3 separate regions of the Homo sapiens genome follow, and regions 1 and 3 are each linked to region 2. Evidence: promoter capture Hi-C in human tissues and cell types (Jung and others, 2019). All regions are on one chromosome and are shown on one strand. Each heading gives the region's core, a stretch centred on a gene start or on the middle of the fragment in contact. The rest is flanking DNA. Distances are from core to core; before and after follow the strand shown. Region 1 overlaps MVB12B (multivesicular body subunit 12B). Region 2 holds the start of RABEPK (Rab9 effector protein with kelch motifs). Region 3 overlaps MVB12B (multivesicular body subunit 12B).

What was found. Contacts are between HindIII fragments. The study calls those that stand out against the background at their distance.
Region 1: a fragment that was not itself captured here is called in contact with the fragment with the promoter of RABEPK in region 2 in 1 of the 25 tissues and cell types used here (hippocampus).
Region 3: a contact is called between a fragment that was not itself captured here and the fragment with the promoter of RABEPK in region 2, in 1 of the 25 tissues and cell types used here (dorsolateral prefrontal cortex).

The regions. Positions count from the first base shown.
Region 1 is chr9:126,416,613-126,419,312 of GRCh38, reverse strand. All of the region lies in intron 6 of MVB12B (multivesicular body subunit 12B), which reads right to left. Among named protein-coding and RNA genes, the nearest start is that of NRON, 7.5 kb to the right of the region's middle. The HindIII fragment of the contact is 5,681 bases long and covers 1-2,700 here.
Region 2 is chr9:125,199,195-125,201,894 of GRCh38, reverse strand. RABEPK (Rab9 effector protein with kelch motifs) reads right to left here and starts at 1,353. Exons shown (of 8, transcript NM_005833.4): 1 at 989-1,353. LOC105376271 (a long non-coding RNA gene) reads left to right here and starts at 1,499. Exons shown (of 2, transcript NR_135145.1): 1 at 1,499-1,669; 2 at 2,240-2,362. RefSeq lists a silencer at 1,426-1,475. The HindIII fragment of the contact is 10,811 bases long and covers 1-2,700 here.
Region 3 is chr9:126,434,760-126,437,459 of GRCh38, reverse strand. All of the region lies in intron 7 of MVB12B (multivesicular body subunit 12B), which reads right to left. Among named protein-coding and RNA genes, the nearest start is that of NRON, 26 kb to the right of the region's middle. RefSeq lists an enhancer at 1-1,339. The HindIII fragment of the contact is 5,330 bases long and covers 1-2,700 here.

The DNA of each region.
Region 1 (2,700 bases), core at 15-2,514, 1.2 Mb before region 2:
GCTATAACTGCACTCACTATACCAATGAGGGAATTTCCAGGAGCCAGGGAAGTATTTTGCTTCATGGCTGCCAGACTAAGATTTCTAAGCCTCCAAAGCCCTAAAAAGGTGCACGCAACCTAACTAAGGATGCAGAGCGATTTGTGCAGTGCGGTAAACACTCCAGGAGCTAGAAGCATTCAGGGAGGCTCACAGAGGAGGCAGGAGCATTAGCAGAACTTTGGGAGCCAGGTGGACATGGATGATGGCAAAGAGGCCAGCCAGGAGGCAGAGGAGAAAATGGGGCCAGCCGAGCTGTTGGGTGGTCAAATATGCATCAATACAGATCTGTGGGGGACTCAGTGGTGGCAGGACAGGCAGGGGGACACGAAAATATCCATAAAGTTACCTGAACACTTGCTTACAAGTGTGATCATTTCCTATGGAAGGCGGGAAGACTCAAGTGCTAGGAAGGGCAGGGTAGGAGAAGGCTCCCTGGAAGGCTTCCTGGAGGAAGGTACATTGAGGTGGGAACTGAAGATAGGCAGAAATCAGAGAGATGCAGCAGGGAGGAGGGGTGAGCACTCGAGGCTCCGTGGGGAGTCTGACCTCCTCCAGACTTAGGAGGAAGCCAGGGTGGCCATGCCTAGAAGGCCAGGAAGACGGTGGGGCCAGGCCACGTGGAGCCCAGCATGGGTTCTGCCTTTCTCTGGAATGATTTTTAAGCAGAAATGTGCCAACATCCAATTTACAATTTCAAAAGCTTGCCCGTCTGTGGGAGAGTGAGGAAATAAAACTAAGGCGCCAATGTGGATGGGAATGGTAGCAGGAAATGATCATGAGCCTACAATTATTCACTATCTACTTTGTGCAGAGACTTCATTCCTGTCGACATGACTTGCCACAGACCCTCTAAATGGATAGTTTTGGGGAAATTTAGGACTTAAAAGAAATATATGAGCAATAACAACCACAAAAAAGTATATGAACAACAGAGAAATCAAGGGGCCCAGCTCTTCAGCTGCTCCATGCAATACTGATGTCCGGGACCAAACTTTCTTGTCCCTCGGGGCCTCAGATTTTGCCTGGCTTGCTCTGCAACTCAACCCCCGCCCCAGGTTCTCTTCCCTCGTTGGAGATGATTCTTTCTGCCCACCACCCCCCACCCCGCCAACTCCCACTTCGTCTCCAAACTTTGCAAGGTTGCTGTTTGCAAGGGTGCTGGCTTAGCTGTCTTCTCACTCTGTACACTTACACATCCCCGGCACACCAGCCCACCTTCCAGATTCTGCCTCTTGCCACTACTTACTTCCCCTCTCCTCCAGAAAGAGTGGAAGTCTTGTTAATCTCTGAACAGGCCTTGTTTTTCTCATGCCTAGGCCTGATTCTTTATCCATGCCACTCCCTCTTCCTAGGAATCTCCATTCTTCCTTACCGACTCTCCAAACTCCTATTCATACTTCAAGATCCCACCCAACCATGCCCTCTTTGGAAAAACCTTTCCTGGGCTTGCCCCAGACTGGATTGGATGCCTGAGTGTCTTCTCTCACCCCACTCCAGGTATCACAGTACACTTTGGTCATCTGATATAAACCTGTTCCCTAATGTGATTGTGACCTCCTCAAGAGCAGGGCCAAATATCATCAATTTTGTACTTCATTTTCTGGGACAATTTTTTGTCACAGGGTAGACAATTACTGACCATTTGTTGACCAAATCAAGTGTTGTAGTTGGCTCACTAAAACTCCTGGGTTTCTTTTTTGACATGAACTGCTGTTAGTCTCTATCATTTCATTTCTCCCTGTGTGTATTTTCCCAATTAATTAGGCTCCAGGGGTCTCTGTTTTATACCCTGAATCTCACCTCTCTCCATTATGGAGGAAACCAGGTATGGGTAAGAAGAAATCAGCAGCAGCAGCAACCAGGAATTTACAAGAAGGGAAAAAAAAGAAGGTTTCTGTTCATATATGATAGACAATGTGTGCCTGATGCAGCAAATGTGAAATTAAAAGAGGATTCAAGTCACAGGCTGACTGTATTTTCTGCAGAATAACTGCTCAGTAGGGATCTGCTGAATTGAAATCAGGTTACTGAATACTCCAGCTAAAGTAGCTGATGCAAGAGTGGGTAAGGGACAGCAGTCAGAGAGCAGCAGGTGAGAAGGCCCCCTGGGCAGAGAAAGCTTTAGGGAGAAGGGCTCCTCCCTACATGGCAAATAGCTTCCCCTGCATTTCTGCTTCCACTACTCCTGGACACAGGAAGCAGGGGACATGGGGACAGGACAGAAAGGCACATCAAGGCTTCCCATTAATGAGAATGAACAGTTTGGGCCCCAGGGACAGATTACCTGTGGTTAAACAGGACAAGTCACCTGCCGAAGGAGAAGTGGCCCAGGAGTGCTTTGGTGTCAGATTAGCCTGAAAGTGAGAGACAAGGATGAAGGCTCTGCCATCAGCTGGGTCTCTGGCGAGATGAGATTCCAGTTCCCCAGCGTGGGATGGAGCCCCACCTGCCAGGACCTGGGCTGGGGGTCCTCAATATATCACCCGGCCTCATCACCTCAACAACCTTTTTAGGTAGGAGTAATTATTCTCATTTAACAGAATAGGAAACTGAGGCTCTGAGAGGTAAAGCTGATGAAGGGAAAGCTAGGTATTAATGAAGAGGTCAGTCCATGTGTCCTCCGGAGGTGGTTATCGCTATGTTAGAGTTACCCCGATT
Region 2 (2,700 bases), core at 104-2,603:
CACGCCTGTAATCCCAGCACTTTGGGAGGCCGAGGCAGGCGGATCATGAGGTCAGATCGATACCATCCTGGCCAACATGGTGAAACCCTGTCTTTACTAAAAATACAAAAAAAATTAGCTGGGCGTTGTGGCCCACGCCTGTAGTCCCAGCTACTCAGGAGGCTGAGGCGTGAGAATTGCTTGAACCCAAGAGGCGGAGGTTGCAGTGAGCCGAAATTGCGCCACTTGCACTCCAGCCTGGCGACAGAGCAAGACTCCTCCTCAAAAAAAGAAAAAAAAATAGAAATGGAGGTTTCGCTTTGTTGTCCAGGCTGGTCTCGAACTCCTAGCCTCAGGCAATTCTTCCACCTCAGCCTCCTAAAAAGCTGGGATTACAGGTGTGAGCCACTGCTCTCCGCTCAAAGGACAAAATATTTAAAGAAGCTGAGAAATACTGAGCTCTGGGATAAATCTTGGCCTCAACATAGCATAGAAAGTAAGGCCTTCTGCTGTTGAGCTTTTTTCCCGTGAACTCACCTCCACAATCTCTTGCATTATTGGTTTTTTTGCTGTTCTTGTAATATGGCAGGCCTTTTCATAATTTTGCAGCCTGTTCTGCTTCCCCTATTTGGAATGTCGCTTCCCTTCTGGGAAATTTGCAAACTCCTAGTTAACCTTCAAAGCCCAGTTCAAAAGTCCCTTCCCTGGTGAAACCTTCCCTGATTTGCCCTTTTCTCTTCCACCCACATCCAAGTTACTTCCTTCTTCCACCCACTGGGCTCTGAAGGTATTAGCCATCACCATTGCAGGAATCATTTGGAATGTTTATCTATTTAAGGCTTCTAGACTAGATTCTAGATTAAATTCCACTAGACTAAGTTCCTAGAGGGCTGGGCCTGTCAGATCCATTCCGAGAACCTACCAATGGACCTGGCATGGAGTAGAAGTGGGGGAGTGGCTAGTGAATGAAGAAAGAAAATAGATTGAGAGATGAATGGATAAATCTCACCTGCGGCCTAGGCCACTGACAGCTGTCCCCAAAGTCCAGAGCTCAGTTAGGCTGGCTTCACGTGGGCGGGACCTCCCGCAGCAGCCGCCGCTACCAGCCCAGCAAATCTCATCCCCACGTGGCAGTTCTAGGGGATAGGAGACGGGGTCGGGAAAGAACAGGCTGATTCGGTCAAAGTGGCCGGGACGGAGCCAGGGAAGGCCCTTCCCCGTTCTTTGCACCCGGCTTGGGCCCACTCCCCTAAAAGATTCAGACTCCCTGCCCGAGACCGTGATAGACCCGGTATCCGGGGACCCTCGCCCCTACCCTCCAGCCCCGGACTGCAATACCTGCGGCGACTTAGGCCAGTCGCGAGCCGTGACTCCACCCCGGAGGGGCGGGGCTTAGGTCCGGGCCCTCCTCCCAGGACCCGGAAGAGCGTCCGGGCCAACCGCTCCCTCTTCCCTGCTCCGCCCCGAGGGCCCGGCGCTGACTTCCTGGGCTGGCGGTGGAGGGGTCCCCCAGACCGGGAGTGGACGCCAGGCTCTGCATTTCTCGGGAACCAAGTGGGGTGGGCCTTCCCTGGGTCCCTCCCTCCCGGACGGGATAAATAAGCCGGGGCTACTTGGAAACGATTTGCGCAATGCCGGGTTCGGGCGTCCGTTTGGGGAACTCAGATGCCTGCGGCAGCTGATCTACTCTGTAAGGGGCTAACAGGGCTGGGCGCCACCACACTCCAGCTTGGGCAACAGCGCAAAAACTCCCTCTCAAAAAAATAAATAAATAAAAGGGGGGGAGGGTATAACAGTTACATTTCCAGTTACAACGATTGTTTTTTTTTTTTTTTTTTGAGACGGAGTCTCGCTCTGTCGCCCAGGCGGGACTGCGGACTGCAGTGGCGCAATCTCGGCTCACTGCAAGCTCCGCTTCCCGGGTTCACGCCATTCTCCTGCCTCAGCCTCCCGAGTAGCTGGGACTACAGGCGCCCGCCACCGCGCCCGGCTAATTTTTTTTGTATTTTTAGTAGAGACGGGGTTTCACCTTGTTAGCCAGGATGGTCTCGATCTCCTGACCTCATGATCCACCCGCCTCGGCCTCCCAAAGTGCTGGGATTACAGGCGTGAGCCACCGCGCCCGGCCACAACGATTGTTAACAGTTTCTAAAGGGGAGAGTTGAGCATGCAATCCTCCTGCGCAGTCTTCGGGCCAGCTCAAGATTTGGTGCTTTAAACAGCTGATTCATTCCATAATTGCCATTTGTAATTATGGCAGGTGCTATGCTGAGCCAGACACCACCACGCTTTGCCTCCAGGAGCAAGTCTTAACTAGAGAGAGATCAAAGAAAAAGACAACTAGGGACGACTGCCAAGAGTGCAATAAATATAAAGTTCAGCCAGGAGAGTATCTGTTCTGAAGTTACTTTCCTCCAGGCCTCAGGGTTGTCTGTTTGTAACCATGGAGCTAATAAGATTTCTATCATAGGCTGGGCGCGGTGGCTCACGCCTATAAGTCCAGCACTTTGGGAGGCCGAGGCGGGCGGATCACGAGGTCAGGAGTTCGAGACCAGCCTGGCCTACATGGTGAACGCCCCCGCCCCCCCCCCCAACTAAAAACACAAAAATTAGCTAGGCGTGGTGGTGGGCGCCTGTAATCCCTGCTACTCAGGAGGCTGAGGCAGGAAAATTGCTTGAATCTGGGAGGCGGAGGTTGCAGTGAGCCGAGATAGTGCCACT
Region 3 (2,700 bases), core at 134-2,633, 1.2 Mb before region 2:
CTTCATTGCATTTTCCAATTATTTGGAGTAAATTAAAAGCAGATGCACATAGTTTAATAAGGAGTCTAATATCAGTTCCGGGAAATCAAAATTCATTGTCATTACTATGCCGTGATAGTTTTGCAAACTGTACTCAATTTCAGAGGTTTTCAAAAGAAAATCTGTCTATGCAATCTGTTAATTGTCATTCGGTTAATAACTGTTTAAATATCCGAACTACATAGCAGCTTCCTATTAAAAAAAATTAAACTATGGAGTTTACGCAAGCAAACAAATACAGCATGCCACTCCTGGGCTGGGCTGGACTTTTCAGACTTGCCTGTTCACCCTAAAACAATGGGAAGGCTCGAGAAACCCACCCACACGGCAGCTCAGCTCCAGAGCTGGAGGACAAAGAACAGCAATTTTGTACTTCTGCAAGCACCAGAGGTTACAGTACCATAAGACAGCTCTCTGTGGAAGGGCAGAAGCCATGTTATAAATTGTGTTTTCAGAGGTCTGCTCTGCTCAGCAAAAAATTAGCTTCCAAAGTTTTAATTGGTCCACCTAAAATAAATTCTTTTAATGAGTAAATTAACTGATTCAGGACACAAACATGGAAAAAATTAAAGAAAGCAAATGTTGTGAGCAATTCGCTTTTAAAAAATTGACCCAGGAAGGGCCATTCCCTTACTAGTTCATGACTCATGAGTGGAGTGCCCCTTAGGCTCTGCAGGGGCCAGCCACTGTGCCCACAAGTGGACTGGACTGCCAGACAAAGGACTATATGCTGAGCCACTACGGATTTAAGGAACCAGACCTTAAAGGTTACTCTTCATAAGGAATCTTGCTCACAGATGTAGTTACAGCTCCACAGCTGCAAGTTGCATACATACACATACATGTAGCTAAAGCATTTACAAATGAAAAGTCATAGGTATACTCAAACTAGTACACGTAACCTTTTCACTTTTATACTAAGTGGCAGACTTTTTCAAATCCTGTGTGTGTAAATTATAATAGGACAAGCAGTAATTGACTTTGAAACTCCACCCACTGCGAGGGCTACAATTAATCTGTTTTTAGCATAAGAACTGCTGCTCTGCAAAGTTCATAACTTGTAGGTTCTTTTTCCCAATCCAATTAAAACCTAAGAGTGTTCCTAAAAGGCGGCTGCACAGAATTTACTCTTCAGCTCCCGTTTCAAAGGGCGTATCTGCTAACATCCCAATCATCAAAGGGCAAGCCCCTCCAGACCAGAAAGGACCCCAAATGCCCGAACACGAGAGAGCCTCCTGGCAAAATAACCAGAAACTATGCTCAAAGATGAAGATAAAAGCAATTCTTGTGCAGTGATCCAAAAAACAGCATCTCTTTTTTTCCCCAAAATTACCTGTTTTAATAAAGTAGACATACTGTGCCAACTGAACCATTTAATTATCTGCAAAAATGATGAATCAAAACAATAGTTTGCAAAAATAAATGACTAACCTCTGATTAAAATGTCTGTCCTCATTAAATCCAAAGAAAAGGTATGATCTCTTTTTAAAAAATGTAGCCTGAAGAAACAAGCAGTCCCCCCGCATCTACAGCCGTACCCTTCACAGTGGCAGTGACCTGCCATGAGACGGGACATCTGAGGATGTTGTCTAATCTACTCTCTCCAACCCTGAGAAAAGACGGTGTGCCCCTGTGGCCTTCGAGCCTCTGGGTGCCGCCGGCCTGGCAGCAAGTGAGCTCAGGGACAGGGGACTTCCAGATGATGTGCTCGGTGGGTGGTGTGATTCTGGAGCAAGGAAAGAAACTTTTTTTTTTTTTTTTTGGCTAAAATAAGAGGTTCTGGGAGGGGAGTGGTTGGAAAGGAAGGAGCCAAGGCCAAAGAGAAAGAAAAAGAAAGGCAAAGAAGGAAAATCATTTAAAGGGTTGAGTGCCGATATGATCCCTTCTCAAACCAGAGCTGACTTGATGAAAAGGAACATGGAAAATTGAGGCTGATTTAAATGTTGAGAAGTTCTCTCTTTAAAATCATTTTACCCAGTAGCAAGCTAACATCTCCAGCAATTACACATTTCTGAACTAGAAGGGAGGGTTTGCCTTCTATTATGCCAAAAGTTTCCCTGAGCCATGCCAGGTCCCACCATTCATGAGCTCCCTCTGTCAGCTGCACCCTCTCCATCCCCGGCTGGACTTTTAGGTGAGGTCACACTGCAGGGTGAATGAGACCAGTGCCTTCTGGTATAATAAGCAGCAATTCCCTGGAATAACAATATTTACGGCAGTTATAGCAGCTCCACTTCTGGAGTGCCCTCTTGGTACTAGGCACTGGGTATTTCATGTACATTATCTTTAATCCTCAAATTCAGAAGAGAAAATATAATTCAAAATTACAAAAAAAAAAAGAAAACAGACTGCAATGTTATATAAACTGTCTAAAGTAATGTAGCTGGAAAGGGTGGATACAAAAGGGTGAACCAGTTCTAAGACCCAGGTCCTCTCAGAATCAACGAAACATTGAGTGTCATGGAACATCCCCTGTATGCTAGGCCCTGGGCTGGGCATTGGGCATCAGGCACACACCAGTGAAGGAGACATCATCTTGCCCTCCAGAATGAACCCTGAACTCCACATGATGACCAGAGATGGATCTCCTTTCTTAGAACTCGGAAACCAAGCAAATGGCCAGAGTTTTACAAGAAGCATAAATAGCCAAGGGGTTTCCTG